Linked DNA regions of Homo sapiens: all the other regions are linked to region 2. Evidence: promoter capture Hi-C in 16 types of primary human blood cells and fetal thymus (Javierre and others, 2016). All regions are on one chromosome and are shown on one strand. The core of a region is centred on a gene start or on the middle of the fragment in contact, and the rest is flanking DNA. Distances in the headings are between cores, read along the strand shown.

Region 1 (4,364 bases), core at 1,016-3,515, 500 kb before region 2:
ATTACCCACTATTACCTATAAGAATGAGATGAAGTACACTGCCTAAAATGTAATAAGCTATATTATATAGTTTCTCTCTTAAAAAAAGAAAAAGAAAAAAGATATGCATGCAGAAAAATATCATGTTAGGTAAATTTGTATACAATTTAAAAACATATCTTCACATTTTTAAACTCTGCCTGATTGCACAGTTATTTGGTTGTGGCAGTTAATATTCTATATTGTGTTGCAAGATTCCTATATTAAACATGTAATTTTAAAATGGAACTCATTTTTATTCTTCCCAGATAAAATGCAACTGAGTATCAGAATACGTACCATCTACTTAGGTGAATTCTTTTCTCAATGACCAATTATTATTAACTATTTTGATTTACAAAATTAAAGACCCATGTTCTTAGGAACCATAGAAGAGGCACATTTCTGCCTCTGCTCTCAATTTACTTGGTTCATAAGTATTTTTCAATGTTCATATGAAAAACACTATTTTGAACAGTTATAAGCATGAAAGAATTTAAGAAACAATCTCTGGCAGCAGGAAATGAGTCTAAATGTATTTCCTTCTTTCTTTCTTATTTCTAATTTTCCACTGAGTATATGTATTTCCCAGAAATATTTTCCAAAAGAAAGAAAGTCAATGTAAACATATATTTTAAATTGAATCCCCGTTTAAAAACCCTAATTTATTGGTTTTAGAATTATAAGTCTCTCTTTTTCATATTTTTGGTAGGTTACACCTACTTTACCATTGTCTAACTCTGAATTTCTTCTCAACATTTCATGATCATTTCCAGTGATTGGCAGTCCTGGAAACCCAGAATCCATCCTCATATACAACTGACAATGATGTTAACCAAGTGTTTATAAATGGCTAGATCATTTTCCAAGAATGGCCAGTAGAGGGAGAAGGTATCTTTTATACTATAGTGACCCTCTACTCAAAAGTGACACTGACATTGACAAACTTACAAGAAGGTGATTTAGATAAGGGTAGGTAAAAAGGAAAACAGAATAAAACTACTTTAAGAATAATAGACATTATTTACTTTAAAAAACAACTAGAGTTGACAAAAGTCGTAGCAAAACAAACCATATGCAAATCAAAGTACTACGTAAATGTACTTGTGACTCTGGCACTAACTTGACAACAAAAGTCTTAACAAAAATGATACAACTTGACTATTGTTTTAAAGAGAAAGAAGCAGCTTTTAAATCATAATTTCTCAATAGGAATGCTATTGCCATCACAGTACATGCTGTGAAAAACTGACTCAAGTGGAAAAGAATGAAAAAATTATTTGCTTTTAGACCTTCTCAGTATGATATCTCACAATGGTATTGAATGTGGGAGAAAATGAATCAGTAGCACACATAATCAAGTTAATGAACACATACCACACACATACAATTATATATATATATAATTATATATATAAGTATGACATTGCGATTATCTATGTCTTATTCAAATATGAATACTACATCCTAAGTTTTCTAAATATCTTAACCTAGTTTTCTAGATTAACATAATAGATTGGACTATGAGAATTCATAAGCCACTTCCTTCTTAACCCCTTAAAACACCATTGAGTATTTTTTGAATTTTCTATTTGCATAGGATTGTTTTTCTGAAATTCAATACTAAGTACATATTTTATGAGTATCTCAGGATTCTGTTAGGTGCCATGAGTAGTGCAAAGTATCACATGTAATTTATCTGATCCAAGACTGCCTAATTCAGTTGAGGAATCATAAATATAGAACCGCAAAGCTTCTAATAATCAAGTAAAAACATGAAATGATATGATTTGGATAAAAATTGAATGGGTAAAATAGATGAAAAATTGTCTTTCAGACAAAGACAACATGAATATATGCCTTATGATATAGAAATAAGCAAATGACATCATGAGAAAAAATAAGTTGTGCTAATATGAGGATGGGAACTGGGAAACAGTGGTAAATAAGGTTATATTATTAGATGATTTGGGCCTTGAAAAATCAGGCAGAAAAGTTTCATCCAAGGAAGTTAGATGGAAAAAAAGAGAAACAGATCGCAAATAGATACACAGAAGAAACATTTTTAAGATCCAAAGTCTAAATTAGATAATTTCTATGTTTTAACAACAAAAGTAGTACACATGGTAGTTAAGGGCACACTCTAGAGCAATATTGCCCCAGTTTAAATCCTAGGTTCACCACTTACCGTAGTAGTTGTGAGACCTCAGGTGAGTTATTTAATATCTCTGTGGCACAATCATCTGTAAAATGGAACTAAAAATAATAGTACCCATAATATCCATAAATGAGGTAGGTATTAAGTGAGTTACAGGAGATTAAATGAGTTAATACATATAAAGTGTTAAGAACTGTCCTTGGCACATAATAAAAGTAAGAAAGTGTTGGCTATTAATTTATATAACTCACCATTCTCTTGGTTTGGGCCCAACGACTTCAAGTTTCTTATACTGTCAACTACCTTCTTTCCATTGCTTGTATCATATACTACACTGTGTGGTTCTCTGGAAGATACGACATTGTATGTTATATGTTGATACTATTGAAACACACACATACACACACACACAGACACACACACACACAATGAGAAACAGGCAATAATTTCCAAAGACAGATGGACTAAAATAATCATTTATTTCTGCCAAACATCGGAAATTTAATAGCAGAGAAAAAATATAACTGAGAAGAAATGCTGCTATGAAACATTAGCTTTCATGTGGTGGTCCCATTAAAAAGAAAGAAGCTTGGTAAAATAGACACTTTTCCAAAATAGTGGCTTTATTTTGCTATTATCATTTATTTGCCTTTTAAAGAAAAAGGAAATTAAATGAAACATTTTAGTTTTTCATCTGGCAAGGTCAACTATATAAATAAGAATGTAGATTGACCTCACTGATCTTTTTTTCCCTTTGGTGGTAGAATAGTTTAATAAGGAGACAATCTCATGCAAATTATAATAAACGTCTGACATATATGGTTTATTTTGCTTGGTTGATTTCATCTTTATCCATGTTGTTGCATTTCAAACCTAAGTGGACTAGACTATAGCTGTCTGTTTCTAGAATAAAGCAGAAAGTACATTCTCTGTTTCATAAAGTTGACTGCAAAGATAATACTCGTGATTTAACATCATATTCTAATATGCATAATTGTTTTCATATACCAGTGAAAATCCACCAGGAATACTTGGTAAAAATTGAAAATTAAATATTACATATAGGTCACATAGGTTAACAGGCAAAACACCCACAAAAAGAAAAATTTTCATTTTTGAATCACACAAACTATTTCTCATGGTTTATCTGACACAGGGATATTAGAACTGTCACATTTGATTTTCTTTGAATGTAATTACATGCAAATAAGTACTTCATTAATAAACATTCTTATATAATGGTAAAAAGGATAAAGTCAAAACCAAAGGGCTGACTATATTTATGTTTAAAATATCAGATCTATATTTCAGAAGACTAGTATTAATTAAACTAACGGCCACCAACACTCCAGCACAGAGACTACTTACTGTCCATCTGTGCTTTTAGTTTCTTGTTTTTCTTCCATGGAGTTTTGTGAGAACTCTCCACTACCATTGCCAAGGGCTGAGTCAGGATCATTTTTCAGTGTATTTATTATATCAGTAGATACAAAAGGAATATCTTGTGACTTCGGAGAAATATTTTCAGCTTCAACTTTAGGCACTTCACTCAGTTCTTCCTTTTCATCTATCTCTTCAAGGCTATAATCAGAGCTTATTCCAGCTACAAAGAAATGCAGATATAATCCTAAATATTAATTTGCCTCATTCATCACATGCAATTCTGGCAAGGAAGGAATTTTGAAAAATAATAATTAGCTGGACTCTTTTAAATTCTGCCTCAAAAATAATAGTGAAGTTCTTTCTCCTGGTGAGCAGTCACGTTAACATAAAACCAGATTATCTCAGACTCATAATTCCCAAAACAATTTGCTATCACTCTAGGTTTTATTCATGGTAGAGACAAGAGGTTATTTAATCTCATAAACTTTAAGTTAAATATTTCATTTAAGAAATGTCTTACAATTGAATGGTTTTTACACTCATCCAGCAACTCAATAGTGCAAATTAAAGGCAAATTAATAATTTTAAAAGTGAAAATGAAAAGCACATGAGATTTTTGTATTGTCTACAAGGGCACTCATAAAATTTGACTCAATAGTTATTAGTACCAACTATACTTGAGAATTACCTGAGCCCCCTTTAAAAATATTGAGGCTCACACCCTACTCCACAAAATCAGAATCTCTGAAGGGTGGGGCAAGGGATTTTTAAGACTACTTAGATGATTCTACTATGCAACCTCAGT
Region 2 (4,797 bases), core at 2,008-4,507:
ACCCCAGTAGCACACAGCTGTCAGGAGCACGAAGCTACACTTAGAAACAACCTTTGGAGGAAAGCAGGGATTTTGCAGTCCATCAACCATTCATCAAGCACAATTTGCCTTTCCACATCTTATTGTACCGTTAATAGAATTGAAGCATTAGAGAGTTTGTGAGTTGATCACATAGCAAAGACTTTCCTGAGATTTAGGTTCAGTTATCTGGTGGTCTTAGTAGAAATTACTTGGCGTTTAAATGTGGTTTTGGTGAAACCTAGATTCCCTTTGTGAATCTTTACAGAAACTTCGTCTAACAGGTATATCCTCTTAAGGCAACGTGAAATAAGGCCCTTTGCCTCTATTTTCATAAGAAGAAGAAAGTTTTGAAGTCCGTGATAACATATTGGGCATAAATAACTGTCTTCTGGAAGGCATTATGAGTTCTATAAACTCTCCAGGAATTGCCTGGAATGTTAACACTAAGTGATACTATTATAGGTACACAATTGTTGTTGTTTCAGCAAGGGCATCCTTCCAGGATGAGAATTATTCACTTTTCAGGTACATAATTATTTGGCAGTTTTATTCTATCCTTCCTGTTGTGGTGGAAGATATTATATCACCAGCACTAACGATAACAATAATAACAATGATGAAAATTTATGCCTTTATGTTTGTCCTGTTCCTTTTGATGTGAGTTAGGATGGCAGGGAGAGAGAGGAAGGAGGTTCGTAATCATGTTCCAGGATCTATACCAAGCACTGAACAGACATTATTTTAGTTACACAATCCTGTAACACAGGCATTATTATTCCTATTTTAAAGATGATGTAATAAAGGCTCAGAGAGTTTAAATAACTTGTCAGGTAATAGTGGCCATAAAATGTAACCTGCCAAGCTCTTGCTCTTAACCACTTCTCCATGTTGTTTCCTGCTTGTTTCCACTACAGAAGGAACTGGCCAAGAAACGCCCCTATTTCTCTATTTTACCACTTTCATGTTTAGCACATCAATCATAATTTACAACTCAGTGAGAGTCAAAGTTGTATCTTAATTAAGCTGAGAAACCAACTGAAGAAAAATCCAAATAAATGAGGATCAGAAAATTTTAAAAACAAAGTATTCTTATACAGCTTTGATTCTAATTTCCTTCCTTTGTAGGCAAGGAAAATGCTCTTCAGTGATACTTGGGGTCTTTTCTGAGACAACAAAACTCACTAGTAGCAGAACATGAACCAGATCCCAAGACTTTCAGCTCAGGGTTCAACCTTTTTATCTTCAGTACTCAAATAAATCACAGCATTTTTCTCAACTTTACAAATGAAATCACCACTACATTCTTTTAAAGAGTAAGTTATTCAAATGTGTTTGATATATCATTTAATCAAAGCAGGTTTAATTTCCGAAATTTTTGAAAGAGCGCATTTTGTGAAGTGAAGAACTCTGAGTGTATTTGCTTTTTCACATGGCGACCACATGTATAGATGAATAACTAAGAGACTGTTGCAACTATACCAAGAAAAATAAAAGCTAACATTTGGGGCCAAAATTAAGCATTCATTCATAAATGTAAACCAGTTCAATCAAGACCAGCTCTGATGCTTACTCAGAACAAAGTTACTCACATTTAGTCACCTGTAGAGAAGCATGGTGTGTACAATACACTCAAGTTAATTAACAGCCATTTCTGGGAACCCTGTCCAAAGAAATAGTTTTCTTTATCTCCTATGGTAGGAATTCTTCTGAAATAGACAAGACCCAGGGCTCTCCTCTCAGGCAACCACTATTTTGAAATGTTTTTGGGGGGACTATTATTGCTACTCAATGTAAAATATTAAGTGAGATGTCAATATTTTTCAACATATCATTAGGAATTACAGTTTGGAGGCCTTAAGTTCTATTTTTGAAGCCCTTTTAGCCAGTACTGACTGGAAGCCCTGTTGAAATCAGAAGTCTTCATTTCATATAGGGCACACTCTATTTGGAGTGAATGTGATGAAATGTTTCCATGCAAATTCCTACAAGCACTTATGCCTTTATCTTTGTCCTCATAAGCCACATTATACTACCTGTTGTGTATTTTAAAACCCTGTATGATTTTTAAAACTTATCTTTCAATTAATATGTATAGATTTTCTGTCAATAATTTCTTATTCTAATTATGTGGTGGCTAACTGAATGAAACATTTATGGTTATGATATAGAATATTCTAAATACAACTACAGACAATATGGATCATAGATAAAGTAAATTATTGTTTTATGGCTCCAGTGGTTCTTCCTGGTAATTAATAAAAATAAACAGTTATTAAATATATACAGAAAAACAGCAATCTATCAAGCTTATAGAACAATTAAGAATATATAATAATCTTTAAATCAATAAATTAAAAGGTAAACATTTAATATAAAATGAATATATTAAAGGATAAAGAAGTAGCATATTATGGAACATATAGAGATTATTTTATTTTTTGAAGGTTCAACCTCTTTTAAATGGTTAGTATTGGTGTTCTTTTCTCTATGAAAACAGATTTTAGAGAAAAATGATAGTGTATTTCACAAAGCCAAACACCTCTATATTGTTATCACTCCCTATATGCATGGCCTCTCTAAAGCTGTTAAATAAAAAACTAAAGCACAAGAATGATAGTTCCAATTTCACTATACATTTATGTTTAAAAAATACTGGACACACTGGGCATTTAAATAGATGACATACAGCCAGGAAACTCATTAGACTAGCTTTAAGTATAATAAAAAATATTTTTTCTGAATACAATTAATCATAAGCATCTACAAAAACACAAGACCATTGATGCCTAGTATGTACCATAAATCACCATTTCCAGACAGGCTCTATTTTCTTTGAAAGATAAAGAAATAGTAAGCAGTTTACACATCAAACGATGCCTTTGGTTCCTGTAATTTACATTTAAACAACACTGGGTTAAAAATAGCAGCATGAAGATGATTTTAAAGTAAGGAAAATGACCTGGTAGCTAGGTTCTATGGTGCAGATAATGAAATGTTTTGTCAGCTTACCTGATAAAACAGAGCCTTATGAATTACAGCATAACAAAGCCCAGCATCCAAGATGGTTAGGGTATAACGTGTCTTCCTCTGCAGCTGTTCAGCTTTTTTTTTTTTTTTTTTTTTTGACCACAGAGGTTTACAAATTAGTTACAATTTTTTTTCTTTCTTTCTCTGTGGATAAGAAAACAAAGAGACCTTTCCAGAATCCTCTCTGCTTATGCCTCCGCTTCCTGTTCTGAGATTCACTCTATGGTACCCAACATATATCAGAAAACAGCTTTGAGGAAAAAAAAAAAGAAAGAAAAAAAGGCCGATCGCACTCAAAGTGGTACCGCCATCTACTGGCGGACACACACAAAATTGAGCCAAAGAAAAAACATTCCCATTATCCTCTGTCACAGGGAGGAAAGTAAACCTGCATGAAGCATGGGTAGTCATGAAAGTGCCCCAAGATGACAGTAGAGAGGTGATGTGAGCTAAAATTTCCCAACACACTAAAAAAATGTAACTTATCTACTACATATAAATATGTATGAGACCTTTTACATATTCAGTTATTTGCATCTCACTAATTTTTTTAAAAAATTTTATCACTTTGTTGTTTTGCATGATTGTTTCACACATAAACTACTAAAATTAAAAGATATATAAATTACTGTTTGAAAAATAGGTTTTAAGTTTACATTACCCTTTACGTGTAGAGTTTTGCGAAAGCTCCCTTGTGGCCTGCTCTAGTCTTTTGAAAACCTTTTCTCTTCCTGGGATGAATTATTTTCAAGGTGAGGAATTTGACTCCTTAGAGAACAGTGTAAACACATACTCACTGATAGTATTTTTGTGTTGCTTTCTGGTAAAACATTTGCAAGAAATATCTAAATGTAGAAAAAGATTCTATACATCAGTGAACCTAGCTAATATTATTTATTAGGATATTGAAGCACACAATACATAAAGAAAATAAAAATAATCCATCAGTTATTAAGATATTTCTCAATCCAGATGTATGTTATTGTTTCATCTGACCTTTCATATCTACTTTAGAGCAAACAACTATGATTTTATTACAGTTTATCATCAATTAAATAAATACATTCATATTGACAAACCAACTGTATGGATGGACAAAAATGATGTCAAGTATTATATTAGACTTGAAAAGACACAGAGAGAAACACACAGTGCCTGCCATAAAGGAGCTCATACAAAGAAGAAAAACAAATATAGCTGATACCATATTTCCCAGCCATGTGTTCAAGAACTGTTAATTACATACTTCGTTTTCAATTGTGGCCCCCATTTTGTCTAATGGCAGAAAAATAAATCTAGTCAGTTCCAGGTAAACTAAATTACTTGAGGCTTTTCCCAATGATTTTGGGTTTGCATTCAACCAATACATGATTTTCCTCTTCTATCTCTCCTTCTCATGGAGACTGATCTAAGTTCAGGATTGTGTACATATATAGAGAAAGCAGAGTATGATCCCGTTCCCCCTTTCTCCACATGGGCATCCACTGAGGCCAGGAGTCCTGCATGATCCATGACCATCATTATCCCTCATATCTACTAACGTACCCACAGGCCCACTGGGCCCCGGGAATAGCATCCCTCCAGCTTTGCATGGCAGCATCCCCTCTTTGTCACTTCTTCCTCTAAGGAAACTTTTGTTCCTGTCCTTTAGGAGGAGAGAAGAAAAAGCAGCATGTTCCCAGGGTCACTCTTGGCTGTAATTGGCTGACTTAAGCCTTCCTCCCTGCCCCAGGCGCCTCACACAGCCAT
Region 3 (4,936 bases), core at 2,352-4,851, 490 kb before region 2:
AATACCTATGCAATTGTGTTAACTTTTGTGTTACAGTCAGGAGTTTGGGAAGAAAGATGTCAGTCAATGTTTTATTTTGTTATTGTACTTTAAGTTTCTGAAATCCTCAGAGGAGTAATGCCAGGATTAGACACCGTCATCTCGTTAACGTTGATCAAACCAAAACAAGCACGTTCATCTGTTAGAGGCCAATTTTAAAAAATAGCAAAATAGCATAATTTTGTAATACTAGAGTTGGAAGAGACTTTGGGAAATTTAATTACACAATCTTATTCTACAGAGGAGAAAACTAAGTCATAGAGAAGTTCAGCAAAGGTGAAGGAAAAAAAATGACAACGGCAAAGAAGAAGATAATAGACCTATTAGTAGAATTCAGGAGTCTCTCTCTCAGGCCAGGTCAGGACTTCTTCTTTCCAGCCCTTGTCTAGGCACAATAGAAAGAAACACACACACACACACACACACACACATTAAAAAATCCCATGTTATTCCCCTGTAAGTTTTTTCCATTTGTCTTCCTGAGGCAATCCGTGCTTTCATCAACCCTATGATACTCTGATAAAGTATATAAACTAAGTCTTACTCATGATAATCCTCTGCATACAGCATTTAGTAAAAGCCCAATGATGAGGGTCTAGCTCAATGGTACATCTTGGATGAAAAAAAAAAAAAAAAAAACCAGGATGAACCACCAGAAAGCAGAGCTCAGGATCAAGTTTAAAAGACAGGGAATGGTGGTAACCATGATTCCCTGTGATCACAGTGATGAGGATAGAGGTGTTTTTAGCCACAGGGTAGGAGAATGTGAATAATCTAGAAGTTAACCGAGTTTAGGACCTATACCAGAGTGAAGCTACAGTCAATCAAACAAACTGGGGCCAACTCAGTTCATCCAGAAAGGCAATTAAGGCTGGGAGCAGGCTTATCCCAGGGACACCTTAAGGTTATCACTGTGGCTCCAGAAAAGAGGCCTGCTTCTATCTGCCCTGGCCTCTGTTAACACATGCTGGTTACCAGAGAAATGCAAATCTTCCCATGAGGTCACAAACATCACAGAGATAGAGAGGCTAAGTAAACTTCATACTGGTAAAGTAAGCCTCCTAACAGTAATTATTTTCAATACTATTTTATTAACTCAGCATGTTATTTTAGAGAGGTACGACTTTTTACATACTAATAGACAAGAATGAGAAATCCATATTAATTCCACAAATGACCTACTGCTCTTTGAATAATATATTTTTCCTTAAAGTTTAACAACTTATTAATTCCTCATAATTCATAGTTCTTTTAGGCTAAAACTGTCAGAAACCTAAAATGTAATGGCCCAGAGGGTTGTCATAAGGATTAAATAAGTAATGTTCTTAGAGCCTTGTCTGAAACATTAGTAAGCATTATATAAGCATTCACCATTGCTTTTGTTATTGTGATTATGACCCTTTGAAAATCTGATGAAAACTACAGTGGCAAAGTATGTATTATATCTAGGAAAGCCTTAAAAAGGGGAGCAGATTAAATATTATACTGTGTTGGTACATTTCTCTACTGAATGAAACCAGTCATATTTTTGGAAGTATAGACAGCTGTATTCTGTACAGCAAACTGCAAATGCCATGGTAACCACTGTTCCTAGGCAATTGTAGAATTATGCATGGTGGTCCACTTTCTATATAATAAATATAAGAGGAAAATGGAGGGGAAAATAAAATATAACAACCTGTGTAAAAATCTAAAAAGGGGGATGTTTCTTAAACATTGCAAATACATACTCTATTACAACAGAGGGTACAACCTTACATACTCTATGTAAAATAACTAGGATTAAAATTAAGTAAAATAGCAAAATATGTACCTGTACATTTCATAAGTATATGACAATACATCATCTTATCTGCTTATAAACCATGATATATATTAGAATATAAAATTGCATAAAAGATGAATAATGTAAAACATTTAAAAAATTAAGTCAGTTATTTTAAAACTAACACTCTAGGTATTAAATTTCACTTGCATAATACTAGATGGCAAAGAGTTTCCGTTTCTCAATAGTTGAGTGTTTGTCTGAAGCAGGATGCAAAATGAGATAAAATAAAATGCCCAGTGAAGATCATTTCTTACAGTGTTTCCAGCCACAATGTAATATCCCAGAGAAAATGATGTGCCATCCCCGTAGCCAGGAGAAAAATTGATTGCTGTTGTATATCCATCATTCCAAGCAGCAGTCACACCAAATGTGCCAAATGAAAAATTCTCCAAAAGGTTCTGTGAATTCTATGGGTCAAGATTACCAAATACTTTTCCCTGACTCTTCTTCCACTTATTCAAATGTAAAATCAGCTTATGAGGCTAATTTGTCAATAAGACCAGAACATCCTTTGGCCATTGATTTTATTAAATGTGCTCTTCATAAACTCTTGGTCAGCAGATACGGTGCAGAAACTAGATTTCTGAACTTAGATTTATCTGAGAATTCTAAGTCACTTTCAATTTAAGTCAATGTAATCGAATTTCTGACTTCCCATTTCACAAATGACAATCTTATCGTAAATAACTGTGTACATTTTATATAAGAATATATGTTATATGGTTCATATAAATAAAGCATGATCTATTATATGTCTTGTTGCACAAATGGCATTTCAAATCATCAGGAAAAATCATATTTAAAAAATGCTCAAAAACTACCAAGAAATACTGCCAGAAAATTTCTAATGGGAAAGTTTTCTTTTCAAATGAACATTTTCATAGAAGATGATATATTCACCTTCATAGGAAAAATGACATGAGACTTGAAATAATGTGAAAGAGGGTACATAGAAATTTAGGGATTTGAAAGGATACTGCAGCAATAATAGTAAAATATGTGTTCTTCAAAATGTATTCTTTAGATGGAAAAAATAATTTTAGATGCAGAAATATTCTAAGAAAGCTTGGGTTAAATCATTTGCTAACTTGGATCTTTGCTATCTCGGCTAACTTTGAATAGTCTTTGGAAACTGCACAGTTAGTTTGTCAAAATTAGCTCAGCAAATCAACAGCCTTTTATGTGAGCATTTTCAGTATAAGCTCTAAAAAAACACCATCCATATACTTTAATTTGCTAATATTGAGAAATATCTTAGAAGAATGAGGCAAATTATTAAATATAGACAGCCAAAAAATATAAAATAAATGTGGTTGACAAAATTTTTCCTAAGCTACAGATTTACTGACATCAGTAAACCTTGACTAAGGCAAACATAGTTTCTGTGGCTCTTAAAAGAACAAGAAAATGCATTAAAAACTCAAAATGAATAAAATTGCTAATTATAAATCCCTTTGTCATGTGTTACTGACATTTATCTCTCTAGCTTTATTTACCCGCATGAATAAGCATTTTCTACTTCTCATGCAATGTAACTATTTCCAATATTTTCTTTCTGCTTTATTAAAATGTGCTTTGGAGAAAAAAAATGGAAAAATTAGAATACTGTACTTCTGTCAAACAGCGCACCCTTGTGGTTTATTTTGTATCCTGAACAATAAAAATTAAATAAAAGTGTCTAAAATTCACATACTTAGAACCAATTTGGTCATACATATTTTTCTTCCAAGTTATGTTTTCCTCAACATGCTATCATTTTCAATCACTAAAAATAGTGATATTTTACATTTTCAAATTGAAAACTAAATTGTTAAAATAGATACAAACGTTTATAGTGATAATGACCATCTTTGATTTTAAATTTAAAACAAGCAAGCAGTGAAATAAGTATGATTCACTTGTACGTTCATATGTTTTGCTGAATTTCCTGAATATTTGCATCTGGCTATATAAACCACATTTTTACTATTTTAAAATTCATTATTATTTTTTAAAGACACAGTCTCACCCTGTCACCCAGGCCGGAGTGCAGTGGTGAGATCACAGCTCATTGCAGCTTTGAATTCCTGTGCTCAAGTGATCCTCCCACCTCAGCCTCCTGAGTAGCTGGGACTGCAGGCACACACCAACATGCCTGGCTGATTTATTTTATTTTATTATTTTTTGTAGAGGCAGGGGTCTTACTTTGTGGCCCAGGTTGGTCTTGAACTCCCGGCTTTTAAGTGATCCTCCTACCTCGGCCTCCCAAAGTGCTGGGATTATAGGCATGAGCCATCAAGCCTGGGCTATAAACAATTTTAATTCAAGGATCAATTATATTTATATGCATTATGCAATGTACAGTATAGTTTAGTTGGACCTTAAGTTTTCAATATAACCTTATCTAAATTCTGGCTTTTCTATAAAAGCTTAAGAAATATATTGCTAAAAATTACATGGTCCAATTACCATAAAAGTAAATGTAAGCAATCTTTAAGTTAACCACGTACTTCTGAAAATTTACCAGATATATGAATGACATACTAAAATTTTACGATATAAGTGTGACACATTCTCATTGTATATACTATACCTGGCTATGAAAGCAGTGATTAATGTTTACTTATCAATTCTCTTGAACACCTACCATGTTACAGAATTTTGCTGGAGAACACAATTCCTGCCTTCTGGGTGGGGAAAAGAAAAAGGTAAAATTTAACAATGCTGCAAGCATTAAGCCATAATACAACCCTAAAGTTTATCTTTAGAGGATGAGGTAAGTAAGTCATGTTATACCCATCAATTTAATATTATTCAATCCTTCGAAAAGGGAAGCCCTTTATGAACTGCTAAGAATATCCAGAATAAATAATTCCATACCAAGAAGTAAAGTATAACATGCATGTAGTATATGGCCACCTGAGGAAAAAAAATATTTAGCATGAATATTGGTTTTAATATGCATACATTATCTCTGGAAAGACACACAAGAAACTGTTAACAGTGGTTGCCTCTGGGCAGGAGAACTTGGTGGGGGATAGGGAAGGAGAATTTTTACTGTATTCCTCTTTTTATCTTTAGAATAACATA

The links. Contacts are between HindIII fragments. The CHiCAGO score rates a contact against its expected background, and 5 or more counts as called.
Region 1: a fragment that was not itself captured here is called in contact with the fragment with the promoter of SCN3A in region 2 in 2 of 17 cell types (total B cells and naive B cells); the score reaches 9.1 in total B cells.
Region 3: a contact is called between a fragment that was not itself captured here and the fragment with the promoter of SCN3A in region 2, in 2 of 17 cell types (naive B cells and total B cells). The highest score is 6.5, in naive B cells.

Annotation. Positions count from the first base shown.
Region 1 is chr2:164,696,978-164,701,341 of GRCh38, forward strand. COBLL1 (cordon-bleu WH2 repeat protein like 1) reads right to left here. Exons shown (of 14, transcript NM_001365672.2): 10 at 3,545-3,779; 11 at 2,428-2,522. Among named protein-coding and RNA genes, the nearest start is that of SNORA70F, 11 kb to the left of the region's middle. The HindIII fragment of the contact is 993 bases long and covers 1,770-2,762 here.
Region 2 is chr2:165,200,793-165,205,589 of GRCh38, forward strand. SCN3A (sodium voltage-gated channel alpha subunit 3) reads right to left here and starts at 3,258. Exons shown (of 28, transcript NM_006922.4): 1 at 3,031-3,258. The HindIII fragment of the contact is 4,908 bases long and covers 2,326-4,797 here.
Region 3 is chr2:164,713,712-164,718,647 of GRCh38, forward strand. All of the region lies in intron 7 of COBLL1 (cordon-bleu WH2 repeat protein like 1), which reads right to left. Among named protein-coding and RNA genes, the nearest start is that of SNORA70F, 28 kb to the left of the region's middle. The HindIII fragment of the contact is 1,343 bases long and covers 2,931-4,273 here.